Linked DNA regions of Homo sapiens: region 1 is linked to region 2. Evidence: promoter capture Hi-C in 16 types of primary human blood cells and fetal thymus (Javierre and others, 2016). All regions are on one chromosome and are shown on one strand. The core of a region is centred on a gene start or on the middle of the fragment in contact, and the rest is flanking DNA. Distances in the headings are between cores, read along the strand shown.

Region 1 (3,182 bases), core at 225-2,724, 110 kb before region 2:
GTCTTCTGACCTATCTTCCAGATTACTAATTCTCCTTTGAGCTATGCCTAATCTCTTGTGAAACTCATGTATTTAGATGTTTTATTGACTTTTTAGATTCTAGAGTTTACAACTGATCCTTCTTATCATTTTCAGTTTTATTCTGAAATTTTCTCTTGCCATTTAAATTTTTGAACATGTTAGTTATTTTAAAGTCTGTGTCTGATAACCAATATTTGAACTTCCTATGGATCATTTTCTATTGTCTATTTTCTTCTCTTGATTTTTTTGCCCCACAAACTCGAGTTATTTTTTATTGATTCAAAGCTAGGCTTTAGTCTTTGCAAGGGCTGATCTAGTCACAGTTTTCCCATACTTCTAGGATGAAGCTCTTTAGTGATCTCAACCAAAATCCTGGATTGTTTACTAGGAACAATCCTTCTTAGCAAGCCCGGAACTCAGAGTTTTATTTTCCTAGCCCTAATAGATGCCTAAACCTCTGGTCAGTTTCTTAGCCCTTAAGCTTTTGCTTACAATTCAGGAAATACCTCAAGGGAAAATAACCAAATGATGTTTTTGGGATTTGCTTATTGCCCATTGAGTTCTTACTGTCTTCATAACACTCTAATACTTTCAAACATTTTTTTAAAAATTCAGCTCCTTAAGTTATTCTCAGACCAATAGTTGATCTGATGTAAGGTAGCCTACCATACTTGTAAGCAATATCTTGGACCTCAGTATTCTTGAAAGCATCTTAATGTAGTGGATAGGGAAGAATTTTTAAGTCATACATTTATGGTATAAAGATTGTGGCCCTGTCCCTTGGTAACTGTGCGACCAAGGAAAACATATTTAGTCTCTCTGCATTTATGTTTTTCTTATATAAATAATGGAAATAATTGTATTTACTTCACAGGGTTGTTTTAAGAGGTAAATAATAACCAAACAAATAATGTTCATACAATGTTTAATGTAATGTTAGGATATACTAAGTATTTGTAGATAAGTATTTTTGTTTCTTCATCAAGAAAATAGAGTTCATGATTAGTAATACATAGCTACTTAAAATAATGCAATGTGATTATTTATGTAACACTTTTTATAGATTGTAATCTACTAGCGAAATAGAAAAATTATTCTATTTTTGAATGGTATATTGACTGGTTTTCAGGTGCTAGATATTATATAATTCCATATTTATGATAAACATGAAGTTGCAGCTCTTATTACACTTATTTTGCAAATGAGACTAGGAAAGATTATGTGACTTGTCCAAGGGTAGATAATGAGTAGGCAGAGATGCCGGTGTTCAAATCCAACTCTGACCAACTCCAGAACTAGGGTTATTAAATTCCCTACTATTCTAATCTCACCAAGCAACTCTTCTCTTTCCGAATTAAGGAAAATATGCCAGCTTTGTAGAATCTTGCACAGACCATAGAATCAAGTAGTTACTCAGTAAATACCTATTGTCTCACTGACATTCACATCAATAAAATATGCTGACACAGTAGTAATAGAACAGATAGTGGTTCAAGAACAGAACTTTTAATGTTGTCTTTAACTTCCAACCATGGAATTGAGGTGTAATGAAGATGAATTAACATGAACTGAGAATGAGAACAGGTTAATAATTTAATCATAAACAGAAGTTTTGACTCACAATCAAGAAACCAGCTCCCATTGCCATCTGGAGCCCCAAGATTATCAGTCAAGAGTGGTTGTGGCTTAGGTCTATGCTGCACTTTTCCTTGTACTTACATGTGAGTCACTTTACTCAAATTGTAGAAGGAGTGTGATTCCAGCTGCTGCAGAGTCACATCTATAGATACGTAGCTGAATGTCAGAAAAATATAAGACAAAGTAGAAAGTTAGTAAGGTTGTAAACTTCAAACATACTATTTTTGACATAACTTTTTGTTATGCGCTTCCCAGATCATGCAACATGTACAACCCTCATGGATTCTGCCAAATTATGTTAAAATTACTTACTACTTTTTTTTTCAGATCTTGTGATACCTGAATTCCTCCTGTATATTAACTCCTATTTATCTGAAATTATCATTTAACTGTCACTTCCTTCAGAAACTTTCCCCAAACTCCCTGATTAAAATTTCCCATATGCATATTTAGCGATATATATATATATATATATATATATAGTGTCACCCTGTGGAATGTTCCACTACAGAATTGAGGTTTTCTCTTCATCTTCTTTGAAACTACGTGTCTAATTCCGTGTTACTAGACATTCCATTAAAAATGCTTCTTATTCACTCTAGTGTTCTTTTCTGATGCTTGCTTTTATTTTATTTTATTTTATTTTTGCTATTTTGAGGAACTCTTCCATTTTAAAGGAACTCTTCTATTTCCTTTAAAATACACAGATGTCCAAGACCTGGTCTAGGATAATTAAATCAGAGTTTATGAAGGATGAGTCAAATACTTTTATTTTTCAAAAGCTTCTTAGCTGATTCTAATGTGTAGGCAATGTTGAGAACCACTGACCTATAGTTTGAATTGAACCTGCCATACATATGTATATATGGTGTATATATAGGGATTATATATAGTGATATATCACTATATATATATATATATATATAAAACTATAAACTCCTTTCACTAATTATCAGAGTGCAAATTTCCAGTTCTTTGGGTGATATTTCTGTTGTCTCACTAGACTGTAAGTTCTCTGAAATGCAGAACTGTGCCTGTTTTTGGCCACTGAATCTTGAGTGCCTTTCAGAGTGCTTGGCATGTTGTCGACTCTTATTAAACAACTGAATGAATAGAAGAGTTCCTCAAAATAGCAAAAAAACATGAGCATCAGAAAAGAACACTAGAGTCAATAAGAAGCATTTTTAATGGAATGTCTAATAACATGGAATTAGACATGTAGTTTCAAAGATGAAGAGAAAATCGCAATTCTCTAGTGGAACATTCCACAGGTTGACGACATACTCCCTTAAGACTTCTCTTCATGATTTTAAATGAAGCTGAAAATTCAAGCTCCGTCTTAAACTTTGTAAGCAAAAAGTAATTCAAATAAAAGCTTCAAGTACTGAAAAAGGAAAACAGAGAAATTCCTAAATACAACTTGTCAAGAACATATAAGGAATATTTCAAATAGTTTCCTCAAATTCCATCTTGTAATGAGAATGACTAATGCAGCCAAATTCAATGACCACTTTCTATTGTGA
Region 2 (2,966 bases), core at 261-2,760:
GGGCAGCTGTAACAGCAGGGACCTTTGGGGAAGTGCCAGAAGTTCTCAGCAGGAGGGGGAAGTTAGAGAAATGAGGAGCAATGAGGTTGGAAAGACTTGACTAGGTCTTGAAAGATCTGGTAGGCTGCACAAAAGAATTTTATTCTAGAGGTGACAAGCAACCTATGTAGAGGTGTAATCAAGAGGCCATTACACCTTTTACACATCTTATTCTGTGGTGGCAGCATGGAGAATGACTACCACACTGTTTGGAGGTTATTGAACTAATTAATTCAGGTGTGCTAAGACACTAGGATATCTCTGAGCACAGAAATATATCTCTGTGCTCAAATATTCATCTACTGTTAAATAGTCTTCATGAGCTAAATTCTTGAGAAAATCTAGAGGTGCAACTTTCCCATTTCTTTTCATCTATCAACATTTTCTTTAATAACCTGCATTTTTTTTTATCTTAACTGGATTTAACCAGCCTAGGTTGTTTTACTGTCCTTTCTTTCTGTTCTCTTTTTAACTAATCAAGACAGACTTTATTCCCTTGGTTTTGTCTACAATTTCAATGATCACTGATTTAAATTGCTGTTAAGAAACAGGTTGTGTGTGTATAATCTTATTTAACATCAGGTTTCTAATCTGGTAACATTTAACATGCAGATAAATGTACTATACTTTTATGAAATTTCATTTCTTTATACCTCTATCACAAAGCAGGGTTCTGGACGTACTATTTCACTGGCAGTTCACATTTGAGTAAGTAACTTACAGATACTGTATAGACAGTTCATTTTAAAAAGGGCCCCTGCTTAAACCTTTGTCAACAATTTGATGAATCAGCAGAACTGCTAAGATAACCTCCCATCTAGAGAAACAAAAAGGAGAAATACATATTTTTGCAATTTTTTATTACCCAAGGTAAGATCAAAAAGGTCAGTTCCTGAGATGCCATTATCCTTATTAATTCAAATAAAACAGATTCAACCAGGGTTAGGCAAAGTGCTGAATAGCAGCTTGTTGGAAAGAACAGCTCTCACGGTCATTGTACACCAAAGTTTTGTAACATTTTCCTGTGTTGGGAATGAGGATGTCAACAATGATACCTTCCCAAGTGTGGGCGATTAAGTTTTTAGCACACACACACATCTACACACACAGACATTCACTCACACATACACACACTCACACACTACTTCGGGCTGTTATTGAGCTGCTTTTGTGCACTTCGGGCCACCTCTGCAGATGCCCTTGATCTCTGGGTCCTACCCTGATCTCTCCCGGGTACTCACAGAGTCTGCGTACTGGGCGGTAAGCTGGGGATGCGTTGAATATCCTTGCAGGTGACTCTGAAGTCCTCCTCCTGATGGCACTCGCAGGGTGGAGACGAACACCCCATTCCGCCCAGGTCCCTGGGCAGGTCGAGCAGCAGCACCAGCTGCAGCAAGTCCGCCGGCCTCATTTTCCACGGGACTCGGGGCTATTTCTCCATCCTCCGAAATCGCCTCATTCTCAGCTCTGCACCTCGGGTTACCCCAGGCCAAAGGAGACCCGGGAGCGGGAGGGGTGGGAAGAGGGAGGGCTCCAAGGGGCTGTGACCTCACCACTGTGGAGGAGGCTGGAGAAGGGGAAAAAGAGGCACTTAAGTGCTCCGCTTCCCTAGGCAACCTTGACCCAAACAAGTCTGCTTGCTTCACTTTCCTTGGCTGGACCCACGCAGTCCGCTCCGTCTGTTCCCTGACACCCAACACCAGTCCTGGCTGTCCCCTCTGTTTTCCAGCCCGCCCCCCCACCCCGGGCGCCCCTCCCATTAGTTCTCTCCAAAGCCTAGTTTAGATGCCCCCTCCTTTCCTCCTCTTTAAATCCAAGGAGCCACCTTCCCTAGCGTGTAGCCTTCTAGACACCCTGTCTGCCTGGGAGCCACTCGCACGCACTCCTTATCCAGAGAAAGTCCCCGCGGAGTGGACTGTCCGCGGGCGGACCAATGTCCTGCAGAACTTCAGCTCCTCCTGGCCAGAGACACCTCTGCTGAGGGTCAGAGGCGGGCACGCAGCCCTGGCTAGCCCGCGGTGCGGCCGAAGCCGTCGCCCTGCACCCCTGGAGGATTCTCGTTGCTATCCAACTGCAGGGGCCACTCCGGTGGTTGAGTCGACTGGCAGCGGCCGCCTCACGTTGCAGCCCGCGGCTCCGCGAGGCAATTCAGGAACTGAACTTTGGGGCCATCTGCTGGGAAGAATCGGGAATGGCAGAAATAATTCCAGGTTCCCTTAATAATGGGTCCAGTATGGAAATTCTGGTCGACCCAAGAATTTCATTGAGTCATATTCCCCCTGGAAGATGGGAAGAAAAATAATACTTAAGTGGCATACTCACCATTCTTCGCACAGTAGCCAAAAAGATCATTACAAACATAAATCAGATTGTGCCTATTTCCTTCTTAAAAGTCTTCAATCACTTATTCCTCTTGGGATAAAAGGAATGTCAATTCCTTCTATACTGCATAATTCCTTTTATATGAACTTGGCTAGGACAGGAAGGAAAAAGTTGTGGTTATGGGAATCAGAATAAAGGTTAGGAAAGATTGACTAGAAAAAGACAGGAGGGAACACACAGGGTTTCCATATCGTAATTAGGCTGGAGGTTAAGTGGATGTATACATTTATCAAAATTCATTAAACCGTACATTTAAAATATGTGTATTCCAAATTTTACAGAAGCTTTATTCATAACCACTAAACGAACCAAGTGTCTCGCGACTAGATAATGGATAAACAAACTCTGATACCTCCACATTGGAATACTATTCTGCAATAAAAATGAATGAACTGCTGATACAACATGCACAAATTTTCTTTTCTTTTTTTTTTTCTTTTGAAACGGAGTCTTGCTCCGTCGCCCAGGCTGGAGTGCAATGGCGCGATCTCGGCTCACTGCAACCTTTGCCTCCGAGGTTCAAGCAATTCTGCTGCCTCAGCCTC

What was found. Contacts are between HindIII fragments. The CHiCAGO score rates a contact against its expected background, and 5 or more counts as called.
Region 1: a fragment that was not itself captured here is called in contact with the fragment with the promoter of TSHR in region 2 in 1 of 17 cell types (fetal thymus); the score reaches 10.8 in fetal thymus.

The regions. Positions count from the first base shown.
Region 1 is chr14:81,066,887-81,070,068 of GRCh38, reverse strand. It overlaps TSHR (thyroid stimulating hormone receptor), which reads right to left. Exons shown (of 10, transcript NM_000369.5): 3 at 1,741-1,815. All of the region lies in intron 7 of TSHR-AS1 (TSHR antisense RNA 1), which reads left to right. Among named protein-coding and RNA genes, the nearest start is that of TSHR-AS1, 100 kb to the left of the region's middle. The HindIII fragment of the contact is 1,939 bases long and covers 505-2,443 here.
Region 2 is chr14:80,954,165-80,957,130 of GRCh38, reverse strand. TSHR (thyroid stimulating hormone receptor) reads right to left here and starts at 1,510. Exons shown (of 10, transcript NM_000369.5): 1 at 1,281-1,510. The coding sequence starts at 1,450. It also overlaps a transcript of CEP128 not described here. The HindIII fragment of the contact is 2,816 bases long and covers 1-2,707 here.